Regions from separate parts of the Homo sapiens genome. Here regions 1, 3, 4, 5, 6 and 7 are each linked to region 2. The links are contacts of gene promoters, found by promoter capture Hi-C in blood cells and fetal thymus (Javierre and others, 2016). All regions are on one chromosome and are shown on one strand. Each heading gives the region's core, a stretch centred on a gene start or on the middle of the fragment in contact. The rest is flanking DNA. Distances are from core to core; before and after follow the strand shown. Region 1 has its middle 5.0 kb from the start of GBP3. Region 2 holds the start of GBP4 (guanylate binding protein 4). Region 3 has its middle 42 kb from the start of GBP6. Region 4 has its middle 79 kb from the start of GBP6. Region 5 has its middle 64 kb from the start of GBP6. Region 6 overlaps GBP6 (guanylate binding protein family member 6). Region 7 overlaps GBP3 (guanylate binding protein 3).

Evidence for each region. The method cuts DNA at HindIII sites, captures the fragments that hold promoters and counts their contacts. A CHiCAGO score of 5 or more calls a contact.
Region 1: a fragment that was not itself captured here is called in contact with the fragment with the promoter of GBP4 in region 2 in 5 of 17 cell types (activated CD4 T cells, non-activated CD4 T cells, naive B cells and 2 more); the score reaches 6.6 in activated CD4 T cells.
Region 3: a fragment that was not itself captured here is called in contact with the fragment with the promoter of GBP4 in region 2 in 4 of 17 cell types (activated CD4 T cells, M1 macrophages, total CD8 T cells and 1 more); the score reaches 7.9 in activated CD4 T cells.
Region 4: a contact is called between a fragment that was not itself captured here and the fragment with the promoter of GBP4 in region 2, in 1 of 17 cell types (activated CD4 T cells). The highest score is 5.1, in activated CD4 T cells.
Region 5: a fragment that was not itself captured here is called in contact with the fragment with the promoter of GBP4 in region 2 in 4 of 17 cell types (activated CD4 T cells, M1 macrophages, total CD8 T cells and 1 more); the score reaches 7.7 in activated CD4 T cells.
Region 6: a fragment that was not itself captured here is called in contact with the fragment with the promoter of GBP4 in region 2 in 4 of 17 cell types (activated CD4 T cells, naive CD8 T cells, monocytes and 1 more); the score reaches 8.1 in activated CD4 T cells.
Region 7: a fragment that was not itself captured here is called in contact with the fragment with the promoter of GBP4 in region 2 in 2 of 17 cell types (naive CD4 T cells and naive CD8 T cells); the score reaches 5.5 in naive CD4 T cells.

Annotation. Positions count from the first base shown.
Region 1 is chr1:89,026,097-89,029,562 of GRCh38, forward strand. No RefSeq gene overlaps it. Among named protein-coding and RNA genes, the nearest start is that of GBP3, 5.0 kb to the left of the region's middle. The HindIII fragment of the contact is 5,231 bases long and covers 1-3,466 here.
Region 2 is chr1:89,196,966-89,200,293 of GRCh38, forward strand. It overlaps GBP4 (guanylate binding protein 4), which reads right to left and starts at 1,977. Exons shown (of 11, transcript NM_052941.5): 1 at 1,830-1,977; 2 at 145-339. The coding sequence starts at 1,869. LOC107985076 (a long non-coding RNA gene) reads left to right here and starts at 1,382. Exons shown (of 3, transcript XR_002958332.2): 1 at 1,382-1,443; 2 at 1,538-2,093. RefSeq lists a silencer at 1,781-2,075. The HindIII fragment of the contact is 3,654 bases long and covers 1,811-3,328 here.
Region 3 is chr1:89,404,675-89,408,141 of GRCh38, forward strand. It overlaps the pseudogene GBP1P1. Among named protein-coding and RNA genes, the nearest start is that of GBP6, 42 kb to the left of the region's middle. The HindIII fragment of the contact is 277 bases long and covers 2,032-2,308 here.
Region 4 is chr1:89,441,752-89,445,121 of GRCh38, forward strand. No RefSeq gene overlaps it. Among named protein-coding and RNA genes, the nearest start is that of GBP6, 79 kb to the left of the region's middle. The HindIII fragment of the contact is 1,940 bases long and covers 1,015-2,954 here.
Region 5 is chr1:89,426,208-89,429,383 of GRCh38, forward strand. No RefSeq gene overlaps it. Among named protein-coding and RNA genes, the nearest start is that of GBP6, 64 kb to the left of the region's middle. The HindIII fragment of the contact is 865 bases long and covers 850-1,714 here.
Region 6 is chr1:89,381,769-89,385,128 of GRCh38, forward strand. GBP6 (guanylate binding protein family member 6) reads left to right here. Exons shown (of 11, transcript NM_198460.3): 7 at 1-206; 8 at 896-1,108; 9 at 1,884-1,986; 10 at 2,325-2,518. Among named protein-coding and RNA genes, the nearest start is that of GBP6, 19 kb to the left of the region's middle. The HindIII fragment of the contact is 8,356 bases long and covers 1-3,360 here.
Region 7 is chr1:89,004,970-89,008,412 of GRCh38, forward strand. GBP3 (guanylate binding protein 3) reads right to left here. Exons shown (of 11, transcript NM_018284.3): 11 at 1,711-2,883. The coding sequence ends at 2,755. Among named protein-coding and RNA genes, the nearest start is that of RBMXL1, 14 kb to the left of the region's middle. The HindIII fragment of the contact is 5,370 bases long and covers 1-3,443 here.

The sequences.
Region 1 (3,466 bases), core at 943-3,442, 170 kb before region 2:
GAGAGCAGAGCAAATGGGGAAGCCCCTTATGAAACCATCAGATCTTATGAGAACTCACTCACTGTCATGAGAACAGCATGGAAGCAACTACCCTGTGATTCAATGATCTCCACCTGGTCCTGCCCTTAACACTTGGGGATTATTACAATTTAAGGTGAGATTTGGGGGGGGACACAGAGCCAAACCATATCAATTATTAATCATAAAACTACCACAAGAAAAGCATAACCCCAAATGACTTCACTGGCTACTTCTACTAAACAGGTAAAGAATAATTTATACAAGTTTCTTACAACCTTGACCAAAAATAGAAGAGCACAATTTCCCATTCAGTTTGAGGCAATATTACAATGCTATGAAACCCAAAGACATCATAATTAAAGTGTAGACCACTACGTTTTATGAAAAAGGATGCAAAAATCCTCAATAAAATACTAGCAAACCAAATCCCACAAAAGTATACCAAACTTATATGAAGTGGGATTTATCCCATGAAAGCAAGTATGGTTTAACATGTGAAAATCAATTAATATAAAACACCATGTCAACAGAATGAAGGACAAAAACCATATAATCATCTCAATATACACAGGAAAAGCATTTGATAAAATTTGATACCGCTTCCTGATAAACACAGTCAACACACTGAGAACAAAAGGGAACATTCTCAACTTTATAATGTCCTATGAAGTTTTATTTTGATATAATTTTAGACTTCAGAAAAGTGGCAAAATAGTACAAAGTTTCTGTACAGTCTTCCCCTCAGTTCCCCATATGTTATCATTTTAAATTTATTTTCTTTCTGTCTGAACTATTCAAGGGTTAGTGACAGACATAATGGCTTTTTATACCTAAAAACTTCAGTGTGTGTTTCTTAAAAAAGAGAAATTATTTTACAGAGCCACAGTATATTTGTGTAAAGTCCTTCTTAGGCCATAGACTTTTTTTCTAGTTTTTTATTTATTTATTTTTTTATACTTCAACTCTTAAGTTCAGGGGTACATGTGCAGGATGTGCAGGTTTGTTACACAGGTAAATGTGTGCCATGGTGGTTTGCTGCACAGATCATCCCATCACCTAGGTATTAAGCCCAGCATACCTTAGCTACTCTTCGTAATGCTGTCCCTTCCCAAAATCCCACCCCAACAGGCCCCAGTGTGTATGTTCCTCACCATGTGTCCATGTGTTCTCATTATTCAGCTCCCACTTATAAGTGAGAACACAGGGTGTTTGGTTTTGTGTTTCTGTGTTAGTTTGCTGAGGATAATGGCTTCCAACTTCCATCTCCATCCATGACCCTGCAAAGGACATGATCTCGTTCCTTTTTATGGCTGCATAGTTAACAGCTGGAATTCTGTGTCTCCTTCTTGGAGGGAAAACAATATGTAACAGACTCTTTAGACCTGTTCTTGCAAGTGTAACATGGATATGTGTCCTTAAGAAGCAAATATTAGTAGTTAATATCTGAATTTCTCTGCCCATCTACTTTACTGGGAAATGATAGAAGGTTGATTCAGGATTGGTGGAATCCTTTGGTGTCATTCTTGAAGCTCTTTAAGGTGAGGGACTGGAGCACTCGGTGTTGGGACTACCTACTCGTGCATTTGTCCCTGAGATAATAAACACTATTCACAAATTTTAAAATGTTCAAACTATTATGAGATCTTGGTTGGCATATCCCAGAACTAAAAGTCTGCATATGGTGTTTAGTTGGTAAATAATATTTACAAGAACAGATTTATTTACAAGGCATGGTTTTCCAACTGAGTGAATATAGAAGAACTCTCAAAATATGTTAAAGACTCCACGGAGCATATGAAGGCTTGAGTTTTTTTAATTCAATGTAAATCAAATAAAAGCACTTACCAAAGTGTTGAAGAACATTTGTTATCATTTTGAATGAATAGTGGCAATTATTGTATTTTAATTGAGGCTTGGTCTACATGAGGTTATGATTGAAAGTGACATTCCTGGAATAATGGATATTTCATGAGAATCATGAAACTATTTGCTGAATTTGATTCATTTTTACATGACTATCTGGAAAAAAGCCAAAATCAAAAAAAGACAAATGTGTCATCTGTATTCAAAATAGAGTAGAATGAATTAATCAAAACAAAAAATATAAAAATATTTGGAAAAAAACCAGACCCCCAAATACTAGTCCAGTATTGTAAGTTTTTCATGAGATTGGACAAATACTAATCAATTAACGATTATTATGAGTTGAAGGTATTATAGAAAACCCTGAAAGTTTGTAAATGTTTTCATTTCTTGCCACCTGAAAACAATCTTTCTGTGAGAAAGTGGAATATACTCGTTCTGGATGTTTGCAACATTCTATTGGACAGTATTTGTGGACAGTAGTATAACTATATCATATGACAATATAGCTATTATGAAAAGTAAAGATAAAGGATTGCATGCACTTTTTAAATTATACTTTAAGTTAGAGGGTACATGTGCACAATGTGCAGGTTTGTTACATAGGTATACATGTGCCATGTTGGTTTGCTGCACCCATTAACTTGTCATTTACATTAGGTGTTTCTCCTAATGCTTTCCCTCCCCCTGCCCCCCACCCCACGACAGGCCCTGGTGTGTAATGTTCCCCACCCCATGTCCCAGTGTTCTCACTGTTCAATTCCCACCTATGAGTGAGAAAATGCAGTGTTAGATTTTCTGTCCTTGTGATAGTTTGCTTAGAATGATGGTTTCCAGCTTCATCCATATCCCTGCAAAGGACATGAACTCATCCTTTTTTATGGCTGCAAAGTATTCCATGGTGTATATGTGCCACATTTTCATAATCCAGTCTATCATAGATGGACATTTTGGTTGGTTCCAAGTCTTTGCTATTGTGAATAGTGCCGCAATAAACACATATGTGCATGTGTCTTTATAGTAGCATGATTTATAATCCTTTAGGTATATACCCAGTAAGGGGATGGCTGGGTCAAATGGTATTTCTAGTTCTAGATCCTTGAGGAATCACCATACTGTCTTCCACAATGGTTTATCTAGTTTACACTCCCACCAACAGTGTAAAAGCATTCCTATTTCTCCAATCCTCTCCAGCAACTGCTGTTTCCTGACTTTTTAGTGAACGCCTTTCTAACTGGTGTGAGATGGTATCTCATTGTGGTTTTGATTTGCATTTCTCTGATGACTAGTGATGATGAGCATTTTTTCATGTGTCGGCTGCAAAAATGTCTTCTTTTGAGACTTCTCTCAAAATAAGACATATCCTTTGCCCACTTTTTGATGTGGTTGTTTGTTTTTTTCTTGTAAATTTGTTTAAGTTCTTTGTAGATTCTGGGTATTAGCCATTTGTCAGATGGGTAGATTGCAAAAATGGTCTCCCATTCTGTAGGTTGCCTGTTCACTCTGATGGAAGTTTCTTCTGCTGTGCAGAAGCTCTTTAGTTTAATTAGATCCCATTTGTCAATTTTGGCTTTTGTTGCCG
Region 2 (3,328 bases), core at 727-3,226:
GATTGTAAATTTAGTGGTGAGAATTAGAAGTTTTCTTCATTGGGAGAAGTCATGCCCTTCTTTAGGATGACCCTAGAGGGGGTGTGATCAGCTGTGTTATCACTGGTTCCAAGTAAATGGCTCCTGTCCTAGGACCACACTCACCATTGCGCTTTCCTGCAAGACGATTCATGAGATAGGATTTTCCTGTGCGGTATAGCCCTACAATGGCCACCACCACCACGGGCTGAGAAATCTTGTCAAGAATCTCTAATGCCTTTGAATTCACTGTCAGCTGCTCTTCCTGGTTTTCCACTAGACAAATGGGGGCCATCATGATGGATTCAGATTCTGGATAACCTGTAACCCAGAAAAAAATACTCAGTAGAATACAAGATCTTGAAGTCATCCCTAAGGGCTACCTAAGGCACATACATATTAGCTTTTTGCTTGTGGAATGGTATATAAAATTTCTACATTTTAATGGTATATAAATATATTTCTACGTTTAATGGTATATAAAATTTCTATGTATATAAAATTTGTACATTTCAAATGGAAAAATATTTAGTTTAGCATGTCAAAGACTAGTACAGATCTGTTATGTACATTATTTATGATTCTTACAAGAACGCTAAAAATGCCTTGTCAAGGTGATGCATAAAATAAACAGAATTAGAAAATCAAGGCACTGATGGCAGAATAATTCCACTCCTGGAATAAATAGGGGCAGGATGTTACAAAAAGGAGATGAGGAGTGGTTAGAAAAGGCTCCAGGCATTCCAGAAGAATTTGCTCTCTCATTAATTTAATAAAGAGTATTGCGTACCTACCATGTGCTAATTAACACCGTTCTAGATTCTCAGCAACAAGCAAGGAACATAATTGATACAAACTTCTGCCTCTTGGAGCTCTATTTGTTGTAACCCAGCGAGTTACAGAGAAACGCCACACTCTGAGACGAATTCAGGAGTCCTTTATTAGCCGGCGACCGAGAGACGGCTAGTGCTCAAAATTCTCTCGGCCCGAAGAAGGGGCTAGATTTTCTTCTATACTTTGGTTTAGAAAGGAGAGGTTGGGGGGAGGGGTCTAGTTAAAACAATCCTACAGAAGTAAAGTAGGCAAAAAGTTAAAAGGATAAATGGTTACAGGAAAGTAAACAGTACTAGGTGCAGGGGCTTTAATTCTATCACAAGGTGATAGAAGCGGGGCTTTGGGCTTTATCAACCAGACACAAACGCGGGGGGCTCTGGGTGCTGTTAACCGGGCGAATTCCTGGGAACTGCGGGTATGGCTTGCCACAGTACCTTATCAGTTAATTGCATTCTTGGATGTGCTGGGAGTCAGCTTGCACAAGTTAAGTCCCTGAGGAAGCGGGTGGGTAAGGGGCTGCAAGTGAAGGAGCCGAGATGCAGACTGTCTGGCTCTTTCAGCTAAGGGAGAGTCAACTCAGGTTAAAACAAGGTAGGGTATCACATATTCTAGTGGGGGACAGAAAATTAATAAAACAAACAAGCAAAAAATGTGTATATGTATACTAGATGATGGTATTTCGCAGGAGAAAATGCCACAGCTCTGGGAGGAAGCCCGAGGAGGAGCAGCGCATCCTGGAGACACCGGTGCGCCTCTGGTCGCCGCCTGTGGACCGTCTAGAGACGCTGGGCCACACGGAGCAAAGCACTCAGGGGTTCAAGCAGCATCAGACTTCCCCGCGAGGTTCCTCCACTGCCTTTGTCACCCGCCAGTGTGAAGTCTCCAACCCTCCCCGTGTGCAGTCTGCGCTTGGGAATTTGTTGTTGTTTGTTATAACCCAAATATACTTGAAAGGTAAAGCTTAAGAGCAAACTTACCTGGTGTGGGCACTGCAGCGTGAAGAGTTCTCTCACCCATTGCTCTGTCCTCCTGCGCCTGGATCCTCGAGAAACGGACTGTTCTTAGAAGCTGAAAGTCCAGCCGGATTTACAGACATCCAAGTAAGAGTCTGTGAGAACCGAAATTGAAAGGACATGCACTTTGTGGGGAGTTGACTGTTGGGGATTTTCCTGTTTATCAAGACAGGAAACTAAAGGAGCTTGAAAGTGCTGGTTCCTCCACACCAGACTCCTGAAACTCAGGTTTGTTTGTCCCTCTTCCACCCTTAGCTTAGGTATCTTTCGCCTCCAAAATGAATATAGAGCAGCAGACATGAATGTTGTTTCATCTACCTGTCTCTCAGGGGTAATTTTGTCAGGGAAGAAATTTGAGTTTTTGTTTGCTTTTATTTTTTTTTACATGCTTATATGTTTCTGTTTCTCATCTCTTTTCTTTATTTTTTCATTAACCATAAAATATGTGTGTGTTTGTGTGTGTGTCTATGGATATCTATGTATCCTCTAACGTTGTTGCCCAGAGGTGCGGTGGTGGCAAGTAAATACTTCTCTTTCAAAACACAAACATCTCATTGAAACTGGATCTTTTGGAGGACAGGAGGATGATTGGACCATAAAAAGCATAATTTATAATTAGGAGTCTTACCCAGGCTACCAGAAAAATGGACTCAGTTCCTAAAATGACTAGCCAGTTTGTTAACAGAGTTTGGGAAATCTATCTGAAATAAATGGGTAATGATTCCCCATTTGTGCCTATCCCTTAGATCTTCCTATTTGTTTAGTAATGTCTGATTAAACATTTGCAAATTAATAAGTACAAAATTTTAGGCACTTAATCAGGTAAAATTACTGGTGCCGATTTTGATTCAAAACTTAACATTTATTTCCTATAAGCAATATTGAAAGTGAAAATAAAGCTAAGTCAAGTTTTAAATAGGACCAGTAATAAGAAATCAGGTGCTTTTTTCTCTTACCATTTTTTAATGTCAGGAAGTCCCTCTCTCTTAAAAAAAAAAAAAAAGAAGAAGAAGAAAAAGTACAGGGATGACTGAATCCAGGTAAATGTGTTTGAAACACCTGAATTTCACCAGTGGCACCCCTTTCCAGATAATCCAATGTTACTGACTTCAGATAATCATGGAAATGTTAATCAAGAAGAAATTTAGGCTGGGTGTGGTGGCTCACTCCTGCAATCCAACCATTTTGGGAGGCCAAGGTGGGCAGATCACTTGAGTCCAGGAATTGGAAACCAGCCTGGGCAATATGGGGAAACCCCATCTCTACAAATAATAATAATAATAAATTAGCTGGGCATAATGGCATGTGCCTGTTATAATAGTCCTAGTTACCTGGGAGTCTGAGGTGGGAGGATGACCTGAGCCCAGGAGGTCAAGGCTGCAATGAGCCATGGTGGTCCCACTGCACTCCAACCTGGGCAACAGAGTGAGATACTGTCTCAAAAAAAATTGTTAATTCACAGT
Region 3 (3,467 bases), core at 920-3,419, 210 kb after region 2:
TTTGCTTTCTGTTAGTTTTTCTTCTCAAAGTCAGGCCTCTCTTCTGCAGGTCTGTTGCAGTTTGCTGGAGGTCCACTTCAGACCCTGTTTGCTGGTATCGCCAGCAGAGGCTGCAGAACAGCAAGGATTGCTGCCTGCTCCTTCCTCCAAAAGCTGTGTCCCAGGGGGGGCACTGGCTTGATGCCAGCTGGAACTCTCCAGTATGAGATCTCTGTCAACCCCTGTTGGGAGGTCTCTCCCAGTCAGGGACCTACTTGAGGAGGCAGTCTGTCCTTTAGCAGAGCTCAAGCATTGTGCTGGGAGAATCCTCCTCATCAGGATCAACTGCTCTCTTCAGAGCTGGTAGGCAGTAACATTTAAATCTGCTGAAGCTGTGCCCACAGCCACCCCTTCCCTCAGGTCTCTGTCCCAGGGGGATGGGAGTTTTATCTATAAGCCCCTGACTGGGGCTGCTGCCTTTCCTTCAGAGATGCTCTGCCCAGTGAGGAGGAATCTAGAGAGGCAGTCTGGCCACAGCTGCTTTGCAGTGCTCTGTTGAGTTCCACCCAGTCCAAACTTCCCAGCCTCCTTAGCACTGTCAGGAGAAAACCGCCTACTCAAACCTCAGTAATGGTGGACGACCCTCCCCCAACCAGGTTCAATTGTCCCAGGTCAACTTCAGACTGCTGTGCTGGCAGTGAGAATTTCAAGCCAGTGTTTCTTAGCTTGCTGGGCTCCGTAGGAGTGGGACCCGCTGAGCAAGACAACTTGGCTCCCTGGCTTCAGCCCCCTTTCCATGAGAATGAATGATTCTGTCTTGCTGGGATTCCACCACTAGGGGAAAAAAAAAAATTCCTGCAGCCAGCTCGGTGTCTTCTCAAACAGCTGCCCAGTTTTGTGCTTGAAACCCCAGGGTCCTGGTGGTATAGGCACGAGGGAATATCCTGGTCTGCAGATTGCAAAAACCACACGGAAAAGCGTAGTATCTGGGTGGGTAGCACAGTCCCTCAGGGCTCCCCTTGGCTGGGGGAGGGAGGTCCCTGGCTCCTTGCACTTCGCAGGTGAGTCAATGCCCCACCCTGCTTCTGCTCGCTCTCTGTGAGCTGCACCACTGCCTAACCAGTCTCAATGAGATGAACAGGGTACCTCAGTCGGAAATGCAGAAGACTACACCCACTGCCTAACCAGTCCCAATGAGATGAACAGGGTACCTCAGTTGGAAACACAGAAATCACTTGCCTTCTGCATTGGTCTCACTGGTAGCTGCAGACCGGAGCTATTCCTATTCAGCCATCGTGCCAGATCTAAGACATGTTAAGCATTTTTTTATATACTTGTTAGCCAGTTGTATCTCTTCTTTTGAGAAATGTCTATTCAGATATTTTGCCCATTTTTTAATAAGAGTATTTGTTTGTTTGTTTTTGAGTTGAGACTCTTGTATATTCTGAACATTAGTCCTTTGTAAGTTGAATAGCTTGCAAATACATTATCCCATTACGCAGGATGACTCTCCATTCTGTTGGTTTTTTTCCTTTGCTGCACAAAAGCCTTTTAATTTAACAGTCTCATTTGTCTATTTTTGCTTTTGTTGAGTGTGCTATTGAAGTTTTACCCATCAAATTGTTGCCTGGACAGATGTCTGCAAGTGTTTTCCCTATGTTTTCCTCCAGTAGTTTTATTGTTTGGGGTCTTACATTTAAATACTTAATCCATTCTGAATTGATATATGGCATATTAATATCCACGTTTCCCAGCACCAATTGTAAACATACATTCCCCAATGTATATTACTGGTCTCTGTGTCAAAAATGAGGCAACTTAAAATATGTGAATTTATTTCTGAATTCTCTATTCTGTTCCATTGGTCTATGTGTCTGTTTTTACTGTCAGGTCATTTTTTATAAAACTAAAACTCAACCCACTTCACATAAGTGACATGAAAGGAAATTCTTCATGGGTAAAAGTTTGAAGTCTTCCAATGTGCAATCTTGGGCTACATATTTCAGTGTTCAGTGCTCCACTCTTCCACTCCTCTCCAGGCCTTTGCTTTTAAGCTTTGAGTGCAAGTCATTCTTACCCTCTAGAGTAAGTCCAGTTAAGGGCAGTGGCTGTGTTTAATTCATCTTCATACACTTCTCAGCACCTAGTACAGTGCTGTGCATGCAGTATATTTGCTCTCTATACACACATGTACAGATGGTTGATTGTTTTTCTAGCTTGCAGGTCTTGCTTCCATTTGATATGAGACTCAGTAACCCCAGCTGAATCACTGAATCCCTCTTGCTATGAACTCTACAGCCGGCTGCATAGAGCTCTTTGTGTGAAAATAAGCTTATTATCAAAACATTCCACACCTGAAATTCAGTCTGTTCATTGGATGCTAATATCAAGACAATCTTTGAAATCACTAGGCATATACACATTAATTATTGCATCATGTAATAATACTAAATTGTGAATTAATTTTATCTGTGACTATCTACTAGAAGGATTCCATAGACTGCAAACCAAGTGAACTGAAAAGTGAGGAAATGATGCTTCCTCATCCCCACCATCTAAATGAAAAATTCCCTACTTATTTTTTTCCAGCTGTCTGACTTTTTATGTCAGACAATGTGTTAAATATGCCCTTTCCTTATTTACCGCACCTCTAAAAGAATAGGCAGCTCCATTGTGAGTGTGTCTATTATTTTAGGAAATTATAGCTGAAAATTAACATGATGCCTCCTCATTCTAGGATTCTCAAACTGACTCAATCCATGAGACATGTATCATTGTATTCAAAACCTAATGGGCATTTTGTTAGACAACAAATGGTCTCTAAGATTTCCAACAAAAAACTTTGAAGCTTCTGGTTGAGCAATCATTAAACCCTCCCACTGGCACACTCCAGTAATTTCATTTATGGTAGTGGACTTGAATGAAGTACTTTCAGTTTCATATTACTCTAAATCCATTACAAATATGCTTAACCTTTAAATATTTCATCACTGAAGAAATCCCAGCCCTACAACGTTGGAACAGTAAAATATTAGTCCAAGGATCCAGTGAGAGACACAGAAGTGCTAGAAGCCACTCCTCATGAACTAAGGAGAAAAAGAACAGGTAAGAACTTTTACTACTTCTCATTAAGCAGCTTTCTCTTTAGCTCCAAAGGATCTCAGCTCAGGGATATGGAACCCATAAGGTTGTGGCAGGGATGGGAAGGAATTTATAAAGGTCAGTTCATTTTCTTAAACATCGTCAGAACCAAATTAGGCTGCAGATGAGCCTGAAGTGGGACGCAGGTCAGATGAAATCCTGGTGTTATCAGGGACAGCATGGCCTTAAGTGACACTACAGTGTTTGTGTTGAATTAGGCACCAGTAGACAGGGGCTAAACTGAGAGTTTGAAATGCACTAGGATAGTCTTTCTCTTTGTTGTCATTCTCTGTGTTGACTGGAGACATGATTACATTTCCATTATCAGTGATGGAGCTTGCTGAATC
Region 4 (3,370 bases), core at 735-3,234, 240 kb after region 2:
CTTGGCCCCTGCCACCTCAGGATCCAATTATTCCCATTGTATTTAAATTTTGTAGTTGAGTGACTGAAGTTCCCATTGTTATATCTGACAGACAGAGAAGAGCAATTATGAGGCTCTACAAAGATGCAGGTGCTGCCCTCACAAATCTTGCAAGGCATTGATCAAGAGTATATCTTCTGAACCCTCCCAGCTTGGTTGAGTAGGTCTAAAGTGACTAATCCCCTCCACCATCCCAATCTCCCTAAGCCTTTGGAGCCCTTCCCCTACATTAAGTCAAGGGAGATGAGGCATTTCCAGCTCACTGACAGTGGGCCATCTTTTACTCTATATTTCAGCTAACCAAGCAAATTAACTATTAGGACCTTTTTTAACTCCCCAAGCTGCAACATTAAATGCAGAGTCTTGACTTAGTGGGCACAAATCGATATATTCAGCCTGATCCAACTCTATGTTCCTTCCACCATTATCCCATACCCTTAATAACAATTCCTATGGCTGTTCTCCAGATTTTTGTTTATATAAATTAGAAAACTCAAGCAGTTCTTTTCGAGTGTAGCACACCTCCTCATGGGTCACAATCCCAACTTCACGTGTAGGGGCCTGCCAGGACTTTAACCTAGTTATAGGTCTGGAAGCAAACAGGTGTGTTGGGAGAGGCTCCTGAGGAGAATCAACATTATCTTGCCTGGCAACTGCCTCACGGAAGGCCATCACTGTTGCCTCAGGCAGCACAAGGTTCATCTCCTTAGACAAATGTGGAAAGGCTGATAGCAGCATGGGTTCGGGAAGGGATGTTGCCACTACTGGGGATGGGGAAGCTGTTTCTTCTGGCAAAAATGTTTCATCAGTGTTTACAAATTCAGTGTCTCCAGCTTCATCAGGGTTCACCCACATGTCCCCATTCCAAGTTGCAGGCTCCCATTCTTTTCCAATCAATGACCTCACTTTAACAATAGACACCTCATGAGGCTGTGCATGCACCTTTCATTGCAGGTCAGCCACTTGCATGATAAAAGCTTTGTCTGTTTTTCCACAGTTTCAGCTCTTTCTTTATAGGAGATAACTCTCTTACTCAGGGCAGTCTTAGCAGATTTGAGGCTCAGTATCTGCTTCTGAATCCAGGAGACAGAAGCCTTGAATTTATCATTTACTTTCATCACTTTGTCCACTAAACTTAGGAGCAACTAACCAGCTTCATTATGTTCCATGGTTCTCCACAAATGGTCAAAGTTATTATGCATAGAATCACTAAACTCCTTGCCTCTCATAAGGAATGAATCAGGAGTATCAAATGCATTTATTTTGCATAACTCTCTAAACAGTTCATGCCAAGGACTATCAGTGTTCTCCATACTATTAGAAGTAGAGTCCTTAGCATTTTGGGGTCTAATCATATTAAGCAGCCAACTCCAGAAACCTCAAAACCAAAACAGAACTCCATCCTTAATATTCTGTTCCTTTAGAACCACTCCTAGTACCAAAATCTGTATTAGTCAGGGTTCTCTAGAGGGACAGAACTAATAGGATGGATATGCATATGAAGGGGAGTTTATAAAGGAGTATTAAATTCACACAATCACAAGGTTCCACAATAGGCCATCTGCAAGCTGAGCAGCAAGGAAGCCAGTCAAACTTCCAAAGCTGAAAAACTTAAAGTCTGATGTTCAAGGGCAGGAAGCACCCAGCACAGGAGAAAGATGTAGGCTGGGAGCCTAGGCCAGTCTAATCTTTTAACATTTTTCTGCCTGCTTTATACTTAGGCCATTCTGGCAGCTGATTAGATGGTATCCACCAGATTAACAGTGGGTCTGCCTTTCCCAGCCCACTGACTCAAATGTTAATCCCCCTTGACAACACCCTCACAGCCACACCCAGGATCAATACTTTGCATTCTTCAGTCCAATCAAGGTGACAGTCAGTGTTAACCATCACAATAAGTATAGCTATTCCTGCTCTTTTTTGGTTTCCATTAGCATGGAATATCTTCTTCTACTTCTTTATTCTCATTCTATGTGTGTCTTTGTAGGTGAAGTATGTTTCTTGTAGGCAATAGGCAACAGATCATCGGGTTTTGTTTTGTTTTTTTGTTTGTTTGTTTTTTTGAGACAGAGTTTCACTCTTGTTGCCCAGGCTAGAGTGCAGTGGCACAATCTTGGCTCACTGCAACCTCCACCTTCCAGTTTCAAGCAATTCTCCCGCCTCAGCCTCTGGAGTAGCTGGGATTACAGGCACCTGCTACCACACCTAGCTAATTTTTGTATTTTTAGTAGAGATAAGGTTTCACCACGTAGGCCAGGCTGGTCTCGAACTCCTGACCTCATGATCCACCAGCCTTGGCCTTCCAAAGTCCTGGGATTTCAGGCGTGAGCCACCACGCCTGGCCTGGGTCTTTCATTTTTTTATTTTTTTGAGACGGAGTTTCACTCTGTTGCCCAGGCTGGAGTGCAGTGCCGCGATCTCCACTCACTGAAAGCTCCGCCTCCCGGGTTCACGCCATTCTCCTGCCTCAGCCTCCCAAGTAGCTGGGACTACAGGCACCTGCCACCACACCCGGCTAATTTTTTGTATTTTTAGTAGAGATTGGGTTTCACCGTGTTAGCCAGGATGGTCTCGATCTCCTGACCTCGTGATCTGCCTGCCTTGGCCTCCCAAAGTGCTGGGATTACAGGCATAAGCCACCACGCTCAGCCCGGTTCTTTTTTTTTTTTTTTTTTAAATCCATTCAGGCACTCTTTCTTTTGATTGGATAGTTTAGTCCATTTACATTCAATGTTACTAATAAGTAAGGACCTACTCCTGCATTTTGTTATTTTTTTCTGGTTGTTTTGTAGTCTTTTCTTTTCTTCCTTAGATTATTACTGTCTTCCTTTTACTGAAATTGATTTTCTCTGATGGTACAATTTAATTTCTTGTTCTTTACTTTTTGTGTATCCATTGTATATTTTTTTGATTTAAGCTTACTATAAGGCTTGCTAGTACTAGCTTATAACCCATTATTTTAAATTGATGACTACTTAACACTAATTGCATAAACAAAGAAGCAAAAAGAAAACTAATAAAAACTCTACACTTTATCTCCCCACTTTGTAACTTTTGTTGTTTCTCTTAATGTCTTAGTATACTATCTATGTCTTGAATAATTGTTGTAGTTCTTATTTTTTATTGGTAATATCCTGTGTTTTTCTGTATACCTCATATTACTAGTGAGTTTTGTAACATCAGACAATTTCTTATTGCTCAATAACATCCTTTTCTTTCAGATTGAAGAACTCCCTTTAGCATTTCTTGTAGGACAGGTCTGATGTTGGTGAAATCTCTCAGCTTTTGTTTCTTTGGGAAAGTTTGTATTTCTCCTTCATGCTTGAAGGAT
Region 5 (3,176 bases), core at 32-2,531, 230 kb after region 2:
ACAATGATACAACCAAGGACATGTACCATAAACTAAAGACCAGAGCCTTCCTGTCACCCCTACCCAAGGCATAATTGAAACAATTTTAGAATTTGGAACAAGCGACACTACATTTGATAATAATTAGATCTTGCATCATAACACCAAAATTTATAAAGGCATGCAGTACAATGATCAAAATCATGTTTTTTCCAAAAAAAAAAAGACTGTAAATTGTGCAAAAAAGATGCATTTACCTCTGTACCAACTCAGGAAGGTTCATGAGCTGGTACCACCCAGGAGTTTATTCTTCCAGATGACCAGCAGTAGACAAATGGGTACTGAGCAGAGTCTTAGGTAAAAGTCTTGGGAAATATTTGGGCATTGGTCTGGCCAAGTCTACAATGTCCCAATATCAAGGACAACCACCCTGGCTTCTTAGTGAAGACAATGTACAGTTATCCATTAGATCAGGGCTACACAGTCTATGAGCAATAATGTGATTTGTGGACATTGCCCATGTATTGTCCTCACTGATGATTTCAAGCTAAAGCAAACCACCTTATACAGAGATCTAGAATCCCTTTATGTTCTCCAGAGGTAGGTGGAAGAAACCATGAGCAGGAGCAGGAATTGAGTGATAAACAAATGGGCTAAAGAAGAAAACTTTTCTTCTTGTTCAGTTCATCCAGATTATAACTTTAATGGGACACTTTAGACCATTAGACAGTTGACACTGGATTAAACAAAGTCACATAATGCCAATTACACACTGTATTTATGGCAATGTATAATTTGCAAAGATTGACTTTAAAAGATGCTGTGTAACAGAATTGAATTAATTCAATTACTTATTATTTAGAATGCTAAAGCTTATGCTAGTCTTTTCTAATTCTTAACACTCATACTTGAAATCTTGCTGAGTTTCCCCAGAAGAGAATATCGGATGTTTTTTGACATTTTTGACCCATTTAATAATGTTCTTGTGTTTACTTAGTATACATAGACTTTATCTCATGTGTCAAAAGTCCTAGGAAAGTGGTTGATGTTTCTTATAGCAATTAAAAATTATTTCTGAACTGTAAATACAATGTATTTCACTAGGCTTCTTATTTCTGATTAAGTTTTCTTTTTGCAGTTATTTTTGTCAGAAAAGAAGGTTTTAGTCTTTATAGCAATGGTTGGCAATCTTTTCTGAAAATACCAGATAGTAACTATTTATGACTTCGCAGGTCATACAGTCTGTCTCAAGTACTCAGCTCTGCATGTAGTGCAAATGCAGCCATAGAAAATACATAAACCAATAGGTGTGGCTATGTTCCAATCAATTTTTATTTTCAATAACAGGGTGGCACCCATAAGCCATAGTTTGCAGAACTCTGATTTACAGACACATTGGTCAAAGTTTTATATACCGGCCTTGTGTAACTCACACGTACAAAAATCATATGGATTAGATTATATATATTAGAATCTTGAAAAAACTATGTGGTTATTCAAAATAACACAGTGAGAAAAAAGGAGGGAAGCAGTTAATGCCATTAAATCCACATTAATAATTCTGTCTTTTCTAATTGCTTTGAGGCCTTTTATTACCTTGAGCTACCTCTGATCCAATCACATGGCAAATGCCTCCTTTCATAATAGAGCATGGTGCTGTTTCCTCACTTGAACTGAAACTTCATAGAAGACCAGGTGAGACCACAGAATACTAGATGAAATGTTCATGTAGGTAAGCTTTATATTTTCTTCCAAGCTCCATTGCTACAAAGGTGTAAATAAAATACATTTTTATGAGTTGAAGTAACTTCATGGTAGAAAATAATAACTCTGCCTTCAAAAGCAAATAATGGTTTCTTTGTTAACCAATAAAGCATAAGAAAATGAAAAATCAGCAAAACTGAGTTACTTCCTCCCCAGTTTGGTAGCATTAATATTTAGACCACATTCCAAAGCATCTGACTTGGTTTAGTACTTTTCTCTAGCATATGCCAGAATAGAATCAAGCTCTCTCCAGGGAGGCATGTTGCTTTCCTGCCCTTAGACCCTCCAATGGTGTGCAAGTGTGCAGGCTATGGTGAGTGGGGCCAGGAAATCACCAGGCCCCTGGATGGCATGCTTGGGTCCCAGTGGCAGGTGACCTGGGCCTGCTGTCAGACTTCCTGATGTTGCATGCACATGCCCACAGCTACAGTTGAGGCAGCATGATCCCCAGGCCCTGGGCAGCATGTTTGCATGGTGGGTGGTGTGAGAGCCTGTCCTCAGGACACAGAACAGTGTCTGGGTAGACCAGCTCCAGGACCATTGGAGGCACATGCAGATGCTTGGTGGCCCTGCTTCCGGTGGAAGGTTGAGAGGGTTGCTGTTGGTGGCAGTGGCCCCAGGCAAGTGGCTTTCAGAAACTGAGGAGTGTGCATTTAGGCTCCCTTTGTCCTGGGGGCAGCCTCCCTGGTGTGGTGCACTGCTGTTCCTTACTGCACCACTGGATTCAGCCCACGGGACAAAGTTGCAGCCCTCTGGGTGGAAATGAAGAGATGTCCGCAGGGTTCCAGGGACGTGGAGATGATGGGGCTGTTCGCCCCAGAGCAAGATACAGTCTGATGGGGGCTGGGCTTTCAAAATAGTGCTGCACGGCAGCTCCTTGAGTCTTGGGAGTGTCAGTTACCTAAACCAATGCAGGCCGTTTGCCTGATTGCAATGGAAAGCCAAACAAGGAAGCACAAGGATTTTTTAGAGGGAAAGGTTTATTTTTAGTCGACTAGGAAGTAGATGGGAGAAATGTTCAAATTTGTCTCTCAGATCTGGGGGTTGGGGCAGGTTTTATAGACAGCGGATAATGAGGTAAGATCTGACTGCATCGTGCCATGAGGTGATGTCAGGGCTGGATGTGATCAGATCACAGATTAAGCCCTGAGGTGTCTCCTTCTTAAATCAGCCCTGCTCCTTGGTCCAAGTACTTAGGTTCCACCGTGGTTGCATGCCAAGTGTATCTAGGCATACTCAGGTAACATAACCTGAAACCAGGTGTCCATGGCAACTGTAAAACAACGCATTATTTTATTACACAAACTTGAACCACACTGGGCTGGTTCTGCAGTTTCAAGTCCCCTTTTTTTGGTTTTTCATTTCTCAATCTTGTGGGAGAATGGGCGACAAGCACTCTAGCACTTCCGGCTGATTGGGGCACAGACCTTGGT
Region 6 (3,360 bases), core at 308-2,807, 180 kb after region 2:
TAACTCTGGCCCAGCGTGAGAACTCAGCGGCCGTGCAGAGGGCAGCTGACTACTACAGCCAGCAGATGGCCCAGCGAGTGAAGCTCCCCACAGACACGCTCCAGGAGCTGCTGGACATGCATGCGGCCTGTGAGAGGGAAGCCATTGCAATCTTCATGGAGCACTCCTTCAAGGATGAAAATCAGGAATTCCAGAAGAAGTTCATGGTAATTTGCCTTAGTCATTACTGTTCATCATCCTTCCCCTTGAAGAATGAAGCCTATAGTTGCCTTTATTGTCACCAATGCTCATCTGTCACTGAGGAATAACTTATTGTGGATTCTCATGAGGGATAGAGTTTCAAAAGACTACATATAAGCACTTAACTAGAAAATCTTCTGATAACTGAGGTAAAATCAATACAGATCACTTAAGATCCTCAAGTGAACACTTCTAAGGATTCCAGGCCTGCTCTGAACACGCACAAGTCATCCCTGAGCAGTGCACTTTTTCTGTGCATAGTTTACCTTTCCCAGGAAACAAAGATTCTCTTACCAGATCGTAATTCCGGGCCATTGTTCAACTTACATTGCTCCTTCTTGTATCCTTGTACCATTGAGGACAGGAACACAGGATGATACCATTGCAACAAACCATAGAGATTATGGAATGTAGTCTCATCATGTCACAGATAAGGAACCTGAAGCTCAGGAAGATTAATGAACTTTTCCATAGCCTTGAAGAGAATTTCTAGCATTGTAAATGTATGAAGTTTTGTGTTTCTGATTCCACATCTACTCCACTAGAATGTTTTTCTCATGAGGACCACAGTTAGATTGACTCTACCACCAGATTCTTTAGAATTTCATCTCCTCCATGTTTCTTCTGGTGACATCTCTCTACATTTCCCTTGCAGGAAACCACAATGAATAAGAAGGGGGATTTCTTGCTGCAGAATGAAGAGTCATCTGTTCAATACTGCCAGGCTAAACTCAATGAGCTCTCAAAGGGACTAATGGAAAGTATCTCAGCAGGAAGTTTCTCTGTTCCTGGAGGGCACAAGCTCTACATGGAAACAAAGGAAAGGATTGAACAGGACTATTGGCAAGTTCCCAGGAAAGGAGTAAAGGTAAGGAATAAGGGGAGCATGGGGAAGTTTATAGGATAGAGTGAATGGAGTCTTCAGCACCAGCCGTGGGTAATAAGAGAGCAGAGGGATAGCATAACGCCTTAGCTTTCAATGTCCACTAATTAATATTTATTTCTTAGAATAAAAATTTTTATTCCAAAACAAAGAGTATAGTATTCAGAAATCCAGGAGAGACAGAATGAAAATTACCACCTAGGTGGTGGTAATAAACATAATAGTAGTAATAATACAACTAACTCACGAGCTGTTATTACCTACAGTATACTGTTAAATTCTTCCCCAGACATTTTAATTTCATCTTCCTAATGACTTTAAGAAGCACCTTTATTTGGAAATTTTACAGATCTGAACTTAGTACCCAAGGATGATTACATAACTTGCCTAAAGTTCTAGCCAGCAAGTGGCAGGAGAAAGCAACAGCATAGATTAGAGGCAGCATTGCACACTGGAAGACAGACATGTATAAGCATCAGAGATTGGGAGTTTGTACACCTGTGCACATAGTTCTGCCTGGCCGGAACCCAAAACGGGTACAGGGAGATATTACAGCAGTGGGAAAGGCACTGGAGGGAGACAGGAAGCAGGAATTGAGGAGGGGCTCTGGTCACCCTAAAGAGCCCGCACACTTTGTAGGGGGCCACTTTAGAATTTTAGGCATAAAGCAAAAGTTACAAGACCATAATTGTTCTTGCAACACTAATACCCAGAACATAGATTTTCAAAGAAATCTAAGTGCTTTTTCTTCCTTCCATAGGCAAAAGAGGTCTTCCAGAGGTTCCTGGAGTCACAGATGGTGATAGAGGAATCCATCTTGCAGTCAGATAAAGCCCTCACTGATAGAGAGAAGGCAGTAGCAGGTATGGGGCAGGGCTCAGCTTACACAGGAGGGGTACGTTTATACAATGCCCTCTAACAGATCTAACAGGAAAACCTTCCCAAAATGAGGAATTTCCTCTTCTGTGGAACACACACTCTGCTAAATCTTAAAATAACAAGGGGAGCTATGATTGTACATCAGCCAGACAGGCAGAGCCTTTCCCATCACATTCTCAAATGCGCTCTTAATGGTGTGGACCTGGGTGAATTCTGTGATTTCTCACCCTGCCTTTCAGATTTGGTTTAGTCTCAGCTCAGAAAAGTGGAGATGAATCTTCACCTATTATTTTCTTCTCTTTCTAATACCTTCATGGAGCAGTGGATCGGGCCAAGAAGGAGGCAGCTGAGAAGGAACAGGAACTTTTAAAACAGAAATTACAGGAGCAGCAGCAACAGATGGAGGCTCAAGATAAGAGTCGCAAGGAAAACATAGCCCAACTGAAGGAGAAGCTGCAGATGGAGAGAGAACACCTACTGAGAGAGCAGATTATGATGTTGGAGCACACGCAGAAGGTAAGTCTGCCCTTGGCCTCAGCAGGCCAGACGGTCCTCACCCAGGTACCTCAGGAAGGGCTGGTGAAGGTTACAGCAACATCATGAAAGGAAGCACATCACCATTTGCTGCTTGGCAATCACTAAAAGCCCTGAATCCTTTTTTTCTTAATTGTTTCAGTAAGACTTGGAATTCTTCTCTATATTCTCTATACTTAGATTCTGGAGAGGTAAGGTTGACTATGATCCCTACAAGTCCTTGGGGAATATAAATAGGGTCGAAGCTGCTGTTTTGGGAGATTTTAAAAGTAATCTCAAGAAGTTAAACATATGTTCCACACAGTGTATTTGATGTGAACAGCAGCTGGTTTCCTTCACCAAGACCACATATTACCAGGAGCTCTAGTACCATCCAAACACCCTGAGGTAGATCCATGCTGACATACAACTCTTAGAAATTTCCAGACTTAAAAGGACAGGAAAGGGACAGTTTCTAAACTTGCTGCAGTTGTCACCCTGTATAGGTAGCCTGCCCAAATTAGCACACAGTGTAGGGAGAATTCTTGCATTGTCCATCTGAAAGTTCTCTCATAAGGGATTTCTACATCAGCTTATAAGTTTTTGGTATTCCTACAATATGGGTGACCATGCTGCCCAACTGGGACTGAGAATTTATGCAATCAGACCAATGGCTACCTCCTAACTGGCATCTTTTGGGCAGGAACATGTAGAATTTGTCCTCATACCTAGGTTAGCACCATAGCAAAACCATAATGGTGGGTGGATATTAGTAAAGTTATAAACTATGCTTCCTCACAATGTCTAGGTCCAAATTCTCCTCTAATAACTGAGAAAATGTTTTT
Region 7 (3,443 bases), core at 450-2,949, 190 kb before region 2:
AAAATCCCTGTCCTGTTCTGTTCCGTTCCGTTCTAATTACCAGTGCATGTAGCCCGCAGTCATGTACCCCCTGCTTGCTCAATCAATCACGACCCTCTCACGTGGACCCCCTTAGAGTTGTGAGCCCTTAAAAGGGACAGGAATTGCTCACTCAGGGAGCTCGGTTGTTGGAGACGTGAGTCTTACCAAAGCTCCTGGCTGAATAAAGCCCTTCCTTCTTTAACTCAGTGTCTGAGGGGTTTTGTTGGTGGCTTGTCCTCCTACAATACCAGTGCCTGTTCCAGTGGAGGTGGTGGAGGGTGAAATGGACTTCATGAGGGTCCTTGGTTTTGGTGGTTTAATGCTCTATTTTTGTGCTGGTTGGCCTCCTGAAAGGAGGTGGCACTTTCCAGAAAGTATCAGTGGGAGAGGGACTGGTGGTGGGCAGGGTCCTAGAACTCCCAAGATTAAATGACCTTTGTCTTCAGCTACCAGGGTGGATGGAGAAGGACCATCAGGTCAGGGCGGGGCTAGGAGTGTCTGAGCTCAGACTCTCCATGGCTGGATCTTGCTATGGCTGCTGTGGGGGATGGGGGTGAGATTCCCAGGTCACTGGAGTTGTGTACCTAGGAGGATTATGGCTGCCTCTCCTGAGTCATGCAGGTTGTCAGGGGAGTGGGAGAAGCTGGCAGTCACAGGCCTCACCCAGCTCCGATGCAAACTGGAAGGCCGGTCTCACTCCCACTGTGCCCTTCTCCCTGCCAACAGCTCTGAGTCTGTTTCCAGGCAGAGGGCAAGAGGGGCGGGCTTAAAATTTGGCTGAGGCTTTCTGCTCAGCCAAAAAGAAAAGGACTTTAGTTCTTCACCAGCCTGTGAAGTTTGCATGCTGGATTTGTGCCCTCCCCGAGTTCTGGCAGGAGGCTTCTCGCCCCATTCAAATTGTTACAAAGTTTGGTTGGAGAATTTCTTCTTTCTGTGGAGTTTTACCTGTTGCTCCTCTGGCTGACCTCCCGATAGATCCCTGTGGTGCCAGGCAGGAATGGCCTGCCTGGGGACACAGTGAGCTCCCAGGGCCTTCCAACTGCTTCCTCTACCCCTGTATTTTGCTCGGCTCTCTAACTTGACTCAGCTTCAGGTAAAGTCGGAAACTCCTCCTGCACACAAACCTTCAGCTTCTCCAGTGGGGGTGTGTGTTCCAGAGAGGAGGGTCTCCCTTTCCCACTTCTGCAGTTGGGGCAGTCAGAATATTTGGAGTGTTTCCTGGGTCCTGCAGGAGCAGTCTGCCTCCTTCAGAGGGTCTGTGGGTCCTCTTGGGATTCATCGTGTAATATTTTGAAACACTACATAATTATTTCAAGATTCTAACATATACAATCTAATCCTTATGATTCTTATAAATGTAAGTAAAATAAGGCAGATATAAAATGAAACTTTGACCAATGTTTCTATAAACAAAGGTCTGCAAACTATAGCTTGTGTGTGCCACCTGGTTTTGAAAATTAAGTGTTATTGGCACATAGCCCCACCCATTTACTTATGTATTGTCTATGGCTGCATTTGTACTGTATGCAGAGTTTAGTAGTTGAGACAGTTGACCTGCAAAGCCATAAATAATCACTATCTGGTATTTTACAGAAAAGTTAGCCAACCACTGCTATAAAGACTCAAACCTTATTATTTGGTGAAAAACTAAAAAAAAAAAAATGGAAATAAAAAAACTAGTGAAACTTATTTTATTTCTAGTTTAGTTTATTTCTAGTTCAAAAATAATCTGTAATTGCTGTAAGAAATGTCAACCACTTACCTAGGATGTTTGACAATTGGGATGAAGTCTACATATACTAAGTAATGGCAAGACAATTATTTTATTGCTCAAAAGAAAGTCAAAAAAATTCCATATTCCCTTTGGGGAAAATTGGCAGGATTTCAAGTATGACCTTTAAGAATCAGGAAAAGACTAACTTATGCTTTAGGATTAAAACAATCAAATAATTAAATTAGTTCAATTTTCTAACATAGTCTCTATCTTCAGTTAAAGTGCATCATTGCATGTTATACATTACTAAAATTACACAGTGCATAATTGTTACCATGTGACTATTTAATTCAGGGTCAACTGTCTAAAGGTCTCAGGTGTCACATTAAGGTTATAATCTAGATGAATTGAACAAGAAAGAAAAGATTTCTTCATTAGCCAATTTGTTTATGATTCAATTCCTACTCTTGCTAATGATTTCTTTACCTTCCTATGGAAAATATAAGATTCTAGATCTCTGTATAAGATGGTTTGCTTTAGCTTGAGATCCATCAGTGAGAATTATCCATGGGCAATGTCCAGAAATCACATTATTGCTCATAGACCTTGTAGCCTTGATATAATGGAGAACTGTACACTGTCTTCCCTAGGAAGCTAGGATGGTTGTTTCTGATATTGGGACCCATTGTACACTTGGCCAAACCAGTGCCCAAATATGTCCCAAGATTTTTACCTAAGACTTTCCTCAGTATCCACTGGTCGTCTGGAAGAATAAACTTCTGAGTGGTGGCAACTCATGATCCCTCCTCTGTTGGTACAGAGGTAAATGCATCTTTGTTGCACAATTTACAATCTTTTTAAGGAAAAAACATGATTTTGATCATTGAACTGCATGTTCTTGTAAACTTTTAGTGTTATGATGCAAGATCTAATTATTATCAAATATAGTGACACTTGTTCCAAATTCTAAAATTGTTTCAGTTATGCCTTGGGTTAGGATGACAGAAAAGCTCTGTTGTTTAGATCTTTAGCTTATGCGACATATATCTCTTGGTTTTTTTTTTCAGGGTCTTCTGTAGCTTTTGTATCTCATTTTGAAGTTGGGTACTTTCACCTTGGCATCTCTCCTTTAGTACTCGGGCCTGTTCCTAAAAAGGGACAAATGGAGGCTAAATAAGTGTAGCATTAAGTAAATCTCTGTAAGCTATCTAGTTTCCACATGCATTGATTTATTTAGTACTTAGTTTTTTTCTTGAAATTTTCTCTACCCTTGATTTTAATTATAGTTTTTCTGGGCATTTGGGCTGTGTGATTATTTCTCCTGGGTTTTCTATAGCCAAAAGAGTTTCAGCGTATGCCTTCTGCTCTATTGATGAAGGTCTTGCTTTTTTCCCCCTATTAATTATACAAAACCTTTGTGGGAAATCTTAACAATATATTTGACTTCAAATCTTCCCTATGCATTATAGACTTTTTAACACACCTACCTACACACATATTATTATTATATACACATAATACAGAGATAAGTTACTCTCAAAATCTGATTAGGTATATGAATCTTAGATCAGGAAATTTGATCTAAGTCTCTACTCCCTGTTGGCAGGGGTAGCAGAAGATAGGCAAGGAAATCCGAGTGCCAGACTTACCATATAGAATTTCTGCACATAGCTCCCAACTCAACACAAACTGTGAGTAGGGCACAGAA